Regions from separate parts of the Homo sapiens genome. Here all the other regions are linked to region 1. The links are contacts of gene promoters, found by promoter capture Hi-C in human tissues and cell types (Jung and others, 2019). All regions are on one chromosome and are shown on one strand. Each heading gives the region's core, a stretch centred on a gene start or on the middle of the fragment in contact. The rest is flanking DNA. Distances are from core to core; before and after follow the strand shown. Region 1 holds the start of BICC1 (BicC family RNA binding protein 1). Region 2 has its middle 6.4 kb from the start of CCEPR. Region 3 overlaps PHYHIPL (phytanoyl-CoA 2-hydroxylase interacting protein like).

Region 1 (3,569 bases), core at 697-3,196:
GATCAGATGATCATTTGCAGGGATGGCTCTTCCTTCCCTTGCCTAGTTAACTTCTCTTCCAACGTCTGTTCTGAGTTAGAGTCACTGTTTCGAGAAGCCTTCACTGACCTCTCTGACTGAATCCAATTACTCTATCATAGGTTTTCTCATATCTTGAGTCTCTTGTTTGTAATGCTTACTGCGGGCATGATTTTATATTTGTGATTTATTTTTTGGTCAGTATTCCTTCTCATTAGAATTTCAGCTCCAGGAGGGAGTACAGGGATGTGTCTGTCTTTGCTTACTATTCCTTGGGCTTAACAGTGCCAAGTACATAGTAGGGTCCCAATAAATATTTGTTGATAGAAAAACACAGTAAATGTCCCTGATGGAAAACAGTGGGAATGCTCCTACATAAACCCTTTGGGTGCTGAAACTAGTGCCTTGGATAGAAATTAACAGTAATTAACAAGTTTATAAAAGGAACACATGGTGGTGAATCAGAGCAGTTAAGTGTGCAGATGCTCTCAGTTCTTCAGGAGGTGACTCTGGGCAGGAGGGGTCTCCGCTCAAAAAGGTAAGACTTTATATAAAGACCCACAGACCTGGGTCTGATTAATTGGCTGTATTATCTGCTGCTGGACAACCTTAGTCAAGTTACTTTATTTCCCACGGTCTCAGTTTCCTCATCTGTACCCATCACAGGGTCAATTCCTGTTAACTAGGCAGCTGAACCTGAAATAATTTTGATTTACCTTCAGCATATTCCATGATTATCCAGAGGCCTGTGCCAGTGATATGGCTCTTCCTACATGTGAGCCAGGCAGCCTCCTTCTGTGGCGCAGTGACAAACTGCTATCCCCATCATTCCTCCCCGCAAGTCTTTGTACTTTGGGTCATAAAATAATAGGCTATGAATCTGTGTGAACTGGGAAAACAGAGTTCCAAGGGCACACCCAGTACGAGCGAGTCTCCTCTTCCCCCGCGCTTCATATCCAAGCTTGACAGAGGCCGTGGGTGGGCTGGCCCTCGGCAGTGAGGCTCAGAGGTTACTGGCCGTCATCTGTCAGAGACTGACCTTGAAAACAGAGAAAAGCCCTCAGTCCCTGACAAGACAGCCCTGCCCACGTGCCAGCTGGATCCAGCTCGCCAACACAGCGATCTCCGAGCCCCTTTTCTACTTAAAAAAAAAAAAAAGTCTGCTGAGTCCATTCCTTGAGAATCACAGAGAAAACAATTCCTTCCTTACTCCATTCAAGAAAAAAAAAAATTCCCTTTCTCAGAATAAAAAGAGTAAGCCTCTTGTCCACCTCTCGTGCAGCGGGCCACTTTGCTGGGAGGAGACGAGGTGTCTGGGTTTGAGCCCTTCCTGGAGGTATGAACTACATGCGAGCCACGTCCATGGCGATGCCTGCGAAAGACGGGCATGATTTCTTCTCCAAGCCTTCTTTTTCCTCTTCCTCACGTTCGAGCTTGTGGAACCAACTGGGGCTGTGAGTTTCAGGGTGTAGGGTATGTATGTAAACAGCGGAATTGTGTATGCGCTTAGTGTGCGTTCAGGACTCTGCTGTGCTTGAACTTGGCGTGTTTGTGTTTGTGTGTTTGGAGGATTATGAGAGCATGTAGGGGGAAGAGATTTGTATGTGTAAGTGCAGAAAAGTAGTAGTGTGTGTGATGTGTGTGTGTAGACAGGAATTACGTGGATACTCCATGTGCGTTCAGGAGTGTGTGTGTTTGAGGAGCTATGAAAGTGCATGTATGGAAAGGATTTATACGTGTAAGTGCAGAAAGTGGCAGTGTGTACGTGGTGTGTGTGTGCGCGCGCGAGTGTGTGAGCGCCAGGGGCCGCCCGCCCGCCGCGGCTCCCCGTGGGCTGGCCGGGCCAATGAGCGCGCGGCTGTAGGGGCGGCGGGCGGGGAGGGGGCGCCGAGCCCTGCGGATGGAGGCGCGGGCAGCGCGGCGCGCTCATTCCGCGCGGGCGTTGCTGGCGGGGGGCGGCGCAGCCACTGGACCCGGACCGGGGCCGCGACCCGGGGTGGCGGGTGGCGTGGGCGGCGCCCGGGGCTGGGATGCGCCGGGGGCTCAGTGGCGGCGGCGGCGTTGGCGGTGGCGTCGGCGGCTGCAGGGGGACGAGCTAGCGCCGCGGCGCTGGGAGCCAGTTGAGCCCGGCCGGCGAGCGGAGGCGGCAGCGCAGGCAGAGCGGCGGCGGCAGCGGGAGCCCGAGCGCTGCGCGCCCACCATGGCCGCCCAGGGAGAGCCCGGCTACCTGGCGGCGCAGTCGGACCCCGGCTCCAACAGCGAGCGCAGCACCGACTCCCCAGTGCCCGGCTCCGAGGACGACTTGGTCGCCGGGGCGACCCTGCACAGCCCGGAGTGGAGCGAGGAGCGCTTCCGCGTGGACAGGAAGAAACTTGAGGCCATGTTACAAGGTAGGCATCCCTCGTGTTCTCGGACTCTCCGACTGAGCCTCTAACTCCTTTTCGGACATCCCCACCGCGCGCTCCGGCGCCCGCTACTCCAGCCTACGGCCGGCCGGTTTAGCTCCAGGCCCGCTCCCCCGCGGAGCCGGAGGACACCCAGGGACTGGAGACTTCGCGGGACTCCCCACCCTTCCACGCCTCTCAGATTTCCAGGCGCTGGGGGCCCTGTGCGAACTTGACTGGCTTCAGAAAAGCCGAAGGCCGAGTTTGTACTGGCGCGCCCAAGTTGCGTTCTGGACTTTGGAGATGCCAACTTTAGCCCGGACACCTGGGCTGTGCCATCCGGACCACTCGGGCCGCACAGAGTATGCGTGACCCTCCCCATTCCCTGGCAGCCTCGAGTTCTGTCTCTCTCCGTCTGTTTCACTCTCTCCCCTTGTCAGTATCCACTTCCTCCAGCTGAGGGGCCTTGTCTCACTATTGGGAAACGCTCTGCAGATGTCAAGGCTTAAGACAGGAGCTCCCGCCCCCACCCCTGTGGTCAAGGAGGGCCAGGATCGGGGTGAGCAGCCAAAGCGAGGGGGGAGTGTGGAGGCAGTGCTGCTGTGTTTGAGGACAGTGTTCATCTCTTGACAGGCTTATAAAACACATCTTGAGTTACATTCAGTCCATAAAAATCTTCCTATGCTATGGGTGTCTGACTTTGTCTTTCACAACTTAGAATTATTTTTAACTCTTTAATTTCTTTGGGACTTTCCCAGGTAGAAAATCTTCAACCATACTGGACCGAAAACAGATTCTGATTTATAATACGAGTGTTGGAGTGAACGTCAAAACGTCCAAGGTCATTTTGACCTTTCTTAAAACAGATAATTACTAGCCTACCTGTAGCCACCGATGTGGCTCATTTCCCACATCCAAAGAGAGAAATGAGTTAGTTTGAATGACTGTTATTCTTAAAATACGTGTACGGGACCAGGCGTTAGTCTCACTTAGGGCGCTGGTGAAGATTCATTCAGTAGCTAGTGTTCTTTTATCATGGAGGAGTTTGGAGTTTTTCAAACGTTATTTGTGGCTTTATGCATAACTTACTTTGACTTTATCAGTCAATGCATCGCAGTATGGGAATGATTTAGCCCTCTGTGGAAATGCAGTGGCTTTTTAGAACAA
Region 2 (3,655 bases), core at 703-3,202, 660 kb after region 1:
GGGAAGTAATTGATTAATTAGAAATGATTATAGGAATGCAAATAAAAATTTTCATTAGACAGTCAGAAATAGGGCAATGGCTTTTGTTTAGAGATAGGGAGTTGAGACAGGAATCTGACAATAAAGGTGAGAATTTAAACATTAAGAGGAAATTAAAATTCATGAGAATTCATGAATTCTCAGAGGAAACAGTTTTAAACAGAAAAGAACATAATGTCAAAGGTTGAACTTTAAAGTACACCTACACTCAAGGGGGTAGCATAGAAGCTAGAGTTGATAAACAGGAAGCACACATATCAGAAGAGATCCAGTAGAGTTTAGCACTACAGAAGTTCAGCAGAAATAAACTGCTGAAATATCAAAGAGGATGCAGATGATAAAAGGCCTTTACATTTGGTGATATGAAAATCTTACCAAATCCAAATGACATTTGAAGAGTAAGCAGGGTGCTGAAGATTGCTGATACATTGTATGAGGATAAAAAGTAAATGGAAGCAATGAATACCACGTTTATAGCACTTCACATTTTATAATGGGCCCCTTCCATACATTAGAATATTAAAATTGGACAATAACTGGTTCAAGTAAGATAGTTTTTAAAATCAAGGAGATTTGGCAATGTAAAAAGAGAAAGAAAAGAGAGTCCGGAGAAAGAGAAAGACTGAAGAAGCTAGAGGGGAGAAAAATAGGAAGCTATGTCTATCCTGCAGTACACAGGCACTGAATGAAGAGCACAGATGAGGGAAGGAGAAGTGACAAGTTACCGGAACCTACTGAGCTAAAGATAAGAGCAAATGAGCAACTTCATTCTGCCTTCATTTTTCCCCCCAGGAAAGAGAGGGTGGGATCATTTTAAATTTTAAAAAATATTTTGACTGATAAAAATTACATGTATTTAGGATATACCTTTGGGTATATACCCAACAGAGGGATTGTTGGATCATGTATTATATTTTTAATTTTTGGAGGAACCCTCATACTGTTTTCTACAATGGCTGTACTAATTCACATTCTCACCAACAATGTGCAGGGTTTTCTTTGCTCCACAGCCTCTCCAACACTCGTTATCTTTTGTCTTGTCAATTAATAGCTCTTTTAACAGGTGTGAGGTAATATATTATGGTTTTAATTTAGATTTTTCTGACATTTAGTGATTTTGAGCATTTTTCATATACCTGTTGAACATTGGTACGTCTTCTTTTGACAAATGTCTATTTAAATCGGGCTGTTTTCATAAATCGGGACTGTTTCCAATTGAGTTGTTTGCGTTTGTTATATATTTTGGTTAGTAGCCCCTTTTAGGACGTATGGTCTGCAAACAATTTTTCCCCATTCCATAGGTTGTCTCTTCATTCTGTTTATTGTTTTCTTGGCTCTGCAGAAGCCTTTTAGTTTAATGTAATTTCATTTGTCTATTTTTGCTTTTGCTGTTTGTGTCTTTGGGTTTATGCCCCACCCCCCCCCGCAATTACCAATGTCATGAAGCTTTTCCCGTTTCCTCCTATTAGTTTTATAGTTTCAGGTATTTAAGTATTTAACTCATTTTTAGTTGATTTTTCTATGGTGTGAAATAAAGGTCTAATTTCATTTTTCCACATGTGGATATCCAGTTACCCCAAAACCATTTATTGAGGAGACTGTCCTTTCCTTATTGTGTGTTCTTGGCACCTTTGTCAAAAATCAGTTGACTAAATACATGGATTTATTTTGGGTCTCTATTCTGTTCCACTGGTCTATGTGTCCATTTAATGCCAGTAACATGCTGCTTTAATTACTCTAACTTTGTAATATAGTTTGAAATCAGGAACTGTGATGCCTCTGGCTTCGCTGTTGCTCAAGACTACTTTAGCTCTTCAGTTTGTGTGTGTGTGTGTGTGTGGTTTCATGTACATTTTAGGATTGTTTTTTCTATTTCTGTGAAACGCCTTTGGAATTTTGATAGAGATTGCATTGAGTCTGTAGGTTGCTTTGGACAGTGTGGATATTTTAACACTATTAATCTTTCCAATCTATCAAGGTGGGATATCTTTCCATTTACTTGTGTATTTTACAATTTGTTTCATCAATATTTTACAGTTTTCATTGTACAGATCTTTCATATCATCGGTTTAACTTACTTTAGGTATTTTATTCTTTTTGATGCTATTGTAAATGGAATTGTTTTCTTGATTTTCAAAAAGTTTGCTGTTTTGTTGCTGTTGTATAAAAACACCACTGATTTTTGTATGCCAACTTTGTATCCTGCACCTTTACTGAATTTTTAAGTTCTAAGAGTTTTTTGGTGGAGTCTTTATGATTTTCCATATATAAGATCATGTCATCTGCAAACAGAGATAATTTTTCTTCCTTTCCTATTTGCATGCCTTTTTTCATTTTCTTGCCTAATTGTTCTGGCTAGGATTTCCAGTAATATGTTGAATAGAAGTGGTGGGAATGGGCATTCTTATTTTATTCTTGATCTTAGAAGAAAAGCTTTCAATATTTTTTTTTTTTTTTGCGACGGAGTCTCGTTCTGTTGCCCAGGCTAGAGTGCAGTGGCGTGATCTCAGCTCACTGCAAGCTTCGCCTTCTGGGTTCAGGAGCCATTCTCCTGCCTCAGCCTCCTGAGTAGCTGGGACTACAGGCGTCCACCACCACGTCCAGCTAATTTTTTGTATTTTTAGTAGAGACGGGGTTTCACCGTGTTAGCCAGGATGGTCTCGATCTCCTGGCCTTGTGATCCACCCACCTCAGCCTCCCAAAGTGCTGGGATTACAGGCATGAACCACCAAAAGCTTTCAATTTTTCACGATTAAGCATGATATTAGCTATGGGCTTGCCATACATAGTCTTTACTGTGTTGAGATGCATTCCTTCAATGCCTAATTTGTTAACGGTTTTTATCTTGAAAAGATGTTAAACATTGTTGACTTCCTTTTCTGCATTTACTGATATGATCATATGGTTTTTGTCCTATAGTCTGTTAATATGGTATATCATATTTATTTATTTGTATGTTAAATCATCCTTGTGTTTTAAAATCCTCAATACATTAAACCATAAAGATAGTCTAAATATGAAAGTTCTCAGTTTTTAAGAAGTTATGAAACTATTTCCATAAATTTGTACTGTAAAATTAACCAAATATGCTTTCTTAATGTCGTTTTGGTGTCCTACAGTAATAATATCCTAACTTTTGGGGGTGCTTTATAGTTCGTAATAATACTTTTATATGCATTATGTTACTTGATCTTCACAAGTCCCAATACTTCTTGAGTCAGGACAAACAATTTAGAATATTTGGATTGCTTTCAACTGTGTTTCTATTGATTATGAGTTTTCCTTTGCCCTTCCATTTACAATAGGGCTTAGGAAAAGTTTCCATAGTGTTATGAGAGGAAATAAGATGCACTCATTTATTATGCATTTTGTGGAGTTTGTTTCTGTTTGGTTTTGGTTCTTGGCACCCTCTGCGAGTCATAAAATCCTTAGTTGTGCCAGGGGTTGTGGGTCATTTTATTATGAATAAGATAGACCTATGGACTAGCCTACCAAAAGGACTGTGTAGCCTACTTTGATAAAATCCTAGGCTAGCTGGAGCAATATAACTAAATACATTCGAAGTATCGGAGTTCACTAAAATAATTCAGCAAATTGTCCTAAGTATCTTCTCTTT
Region 3 (3,729 bases), core at 678-3,177, 680 kb after region 1:
GAGAATAAAGATGAAAATTTGGTAGTACTCTCTGAGTTATTTTCTCTTGTTATATTTCTTCTTCATCAAGTGTTCTTCCTTCATCTTCCAGTCAGTCTTTGAGACCCATATGAGGTTTTTCAACTGCTCATTAGAGTGAGTACATTAGAATGCTTATGCCTTTTGTGTACATGTGTGGTGTCTGAAAGGATCATTTGGAAATTAATTACTTTAGATATAATTATATTTGGTAGGTTGTGGTTATTTGGGGCAGTTAACATGGAAGAAATACAATTAACCTAAGCTCTGTGCTTGATAGATTTCTCCCCCTTATTTTGACTGACAAGAGAACTAAGTGTATGATTATCTGTGCTTACTGTAGAAATACACTGGATTAATTTTTTCCCCTTAAGCAACATAATCTGTGTTGCATAAAATAAATACAGTGCATAAAATAAATGAACTGGTGGAACTCAAATTAGCAGAAAAACAGTGACAGTGAAGCCTAAAGAAAAATTAAAATCTTCAGCAAATCTGTGTCTAAGGCTTTCAAATTGAACACATATGTCCAAGATTTTCTTTTTGACCTTGAACCTACTAATTTTCATGTTTACTAGGGTATTTGTTGAGTGCTAGGCTACAATAAGACATAGTCTCTTTTTTTAAACTTATTTTTCTTGCAGACTCTTTTTGTTTAAGCTTAGATAAACCTTCCATTTTAATAAATATGGTTTTTTAGTTTTTGTATAACATTTTCAAGCTGTGCTAAGGCTGAATATTTGAGCCTATTTCTATATATTTTCTTCTGGTGTAATTCAGTATATCCAATGTTAATTTATGTGGTGCTTGTTAGCTTGATACAACTTTTTTGGCTGTTATTTTTGGTGATTAAAAAAGGAAGCCCTAATGACTAAAAAAGCAGTGGTTCTGGAATTTGCTGTTTATACTACTTGTTTTGCTAAAAGCTTTACATATTTACATTCTAATGATCAAATTTACAGAATTGAAATTAAGCTTAAAATAATGATAAACGTTCCAAATTCCAAATACAATTTAGCTACTTCTTCTAGAACTTTTGTTTTGCACTATGTATTGTAGAAGTATTTCTTTACCTATATGTTTTTTTTTTTTTTTTTTTTTGAGGCAGTCTTGCCCTGTTGCCCAGGCTGGAGTGCAGTGGTGTGATCTTGGCTCACTGCAATCTTTGCTTCCCAAGTTCAAGCAATTCTCCTGCCTCAGCCTCCTGAGTAGCTGGGATTACAGGTGTGCACCACCACACCCAGCTAATTTTTTTGTATTTCTAAGATATTTATTTTTCTAAGAGCTTCATATGGATCCACCATTGAATGTTTTCCTTTGCTACCCTCATAATAGTTTCAAGAATGTTTTCCAATTTCTTTTCCTATAGTGTTAATACTTTTCTATTTTAATTTTCTGACATAGAAACACCACCTAGTTTCACTCTAATATGATAATATTTTAATGAGAATTTTAAATATATTTCCCTGAATGCATGCATAGTGCTATTTAGTGCAGATAATGTGTGTGTATTTATTTTCATTGCACTGTGAAATGCTGATGTGCCATATTTTAAGGAAATCTGAAATATCTAAACTTAGAAAACACATTAATCAGGGAATAGTTATTTTCCCTGCAATAGTGTTCTCTGTCAGTTCTGCAGTGTTCTTCGTTGTTTCTTTCAGAAGGATTTGACAAAAAGGCAAAATGGCAGTGAAATGTGATACCAACTAATTTGTCTTAAAACAACGGTTTCTTAAGTTATCTCTGAAATTTTTATGAGAGGAAGTATATGCTAGACATTGGAAATTCAAAGATCCAGCATTTTTAACTTCACCTATTTATAGGCCATGTCAAAGGTAGCTAAATCGGATAATTTATTGACAATTTTAATAGCATGCTAGACAGCTGAATTTCTGGCATTTACCTGTGAGTGTAGAAAGCTTGTTGCCCAGCATTTCTGTCAATGTTTCTTTATATTTTATTTGAGCATACAGAATTCTTGTGAAATGTCAAAAACATTATTTTTAAGTAAAAAATGACCCCTGAGAAAGAAAAGTGTGGAATATAAGAAAACAGAAAGGGGGAAAGGATTTGTTAAAAGTGTTTTACAAAATATTTGCACTGACTAATGTTATTATATTAATTATGTAATTTAAGGTATTGTTTAATTTATTTTGGTGCTAGAATTTAATTGCTTTTAAAATGACTTTTATTCTCACATTATCATTAAGAGTCTGTGAATGCATTGTGTAGGGGATGAAAATGTCTTTCCTTCTCATCTTAGGTTCATGGCTGAGGCCACATAACAAAAGACTAACAAGAGAAAAGCATACAAATTTATGTAATATAAGCTGTGCATGACGTGGGAGCCTTCATAAGGAAATGAAAACCCAAAGAAATGGGTAAAACCTATGTATTTTTTAATGTTAGGTTTGATGAAGAGTGGACAGTCATGGAGAAGTATAATTGGAAGACAAACGCGTATGATTTCATGGTAATAAGCTGGTGGGAACTTCACAAGACTTGTTTCTTCAGATTCACCTCTGTGTCCTATGTCTTCAGAGATAAGGATATTCTTTTCCTCCAGGTATAGGGAGGCCATCTCTCCAGTGAAGGTCTTATGACCTGCCTCAGGGGAGAAGGGTAGGAGAAGGAGTGACCTTCCTGCTTCTGTTGTTTTCTCAAATTCTTTCAGCTGAAAGTATTTTAGGGTACCATGTCTCGAAACCCATTGCTTACTAACATTTTTCTGTTGTATTCTACTACTTGGTAAATTATATGCTTTAATTGTTTTTACATATGTAAAGACTTTGAAAAGTATCCTTTGTAAATGCCATGGTTATATTGTAATGGTCTTCAAGTGATGTTTATGAACTCCAGAAGGCATAATAGATAATCAATTGGACCATGGAATAAAGTAATAGAACTTTTGTTAATGTTTATTTTTATATTATCTAGAATAAGAAAAAGTTTTATTAATGTTAGCTATAGAGCTTAATACTTGATATATCAAACTGTCACATATACTCTATGTGCATGAGGTACATGTGTATAATTGGTATATGCTTAGTGTTTTGTACATACAGATAGTGATGTACTTTCCCAGCCTGATGTACCCATTCTTGTGTGATACCTTTTCCAACTGTGATAGCCCTTAAAACAAAGTATCTAAATAAACTGAATTTAGAATTGGTCATTGAATTGCTGTGTCACAAAATGTTAAACCAAGTTTATCAAAATAACACATATTCATATATTTTTAGTAAAATGTTTTTATTCTGAAGTAGATAAAAATAAAATATTTAAAATTATTTTGTATTTTATAATTTTAAATTGCTATTTTGCCCAGTCTATAATGTACATAATATATTAGTATATATATATATGTATAATTTATAAAGAAATGACTGCACTTATGAGTACACTGTCAACATTTTTTTTTTTTTTTTTGAGATAGAGTCTTGCTCTGTTGCCCAGGCTGGAGTGCAGTGGTGTGAATCTCGGCTCACTGCAAGCTCCACCTCCCGGGTTCACGCCATTCTCCTCACACCTCAGCCTCCTGAGTAGCTGGGACTACAGGCACCCACCACCACGCCAGGCTAATTTTTTGTATTTTTAGTAGAGATGGGGTTTCACCGTGTTAGGCAGGATGGTCTTGATCTCCTGACCTTGTGATCCGTCCGACTTGGCCTCCCAAAGTGTGGTATTACACGTGTGAGCCACCGCGCC

The links. The method cuts DNA at HindIII sites, captures the fragments that hold promoters and counts their contacts. A contact is called where the count stands out against the background at its distance.
Region 2: a contact is called between a fragment that was not itself captured here and the fragment with the promoter of BICC1 in region 1, in 1 of the 25 tissues and cell types used here (bladder).
Region 3: a fragment that was not itself captured here is called in contact with the fragment with the promoter of BICC1 in region 1 in 2 of the 25 tissues and cell types used here (H1 embryonic stem cells and dorsolateral prefrontal cortex).

What each region holds. Positions count from the first base shown.
Region 1 is chr10:58,510,926-58,514,494 of GRCh38, forward strand. It overlaps BICC1 (BicC family RNA binding protein 1), which reads left to right and starts at 1,947. Exons shown (of 21, transcript NM_001080512.3): 1 at 1,947-2,408. The coding sequence starts at 2,219. LOC124902427 (a long non-coding RNA gene) reads right to left here and starts at 1,127. Exons shown (of 2, transcript XR_007062147.1): 1 at 735-1,127. The HindIII fragment of the contact is 7,114 bases long and covers 1-3,569 here.
Region 2 is chr10:59,168,232-59,171,886 of GRCh38, forward strand. No RefSeq gene overlaps it. Among named protein-coding and RNA genes, the nearest start is that of CCEPR, 6.4 kb to the right of the region's middle. The HindIII fragment of the contact is 6,010 bases long and covers 1-3,655 here.
Region 3 is chr10:59,192,983-59,196,711 of GRCh38, forward strand. All of the region lies in intron 1 of PHYHIPL (phytanoyl-CoA 2-hydroxylase interacting protein like), which reads left to right. Among named protein-coding and RNA genes, the nearest start is that of PHYHIPL, 18 kb to the left of the region's middle. The HindIII fragment of the contact is 5,532 bases long and covers 1-3,729 here.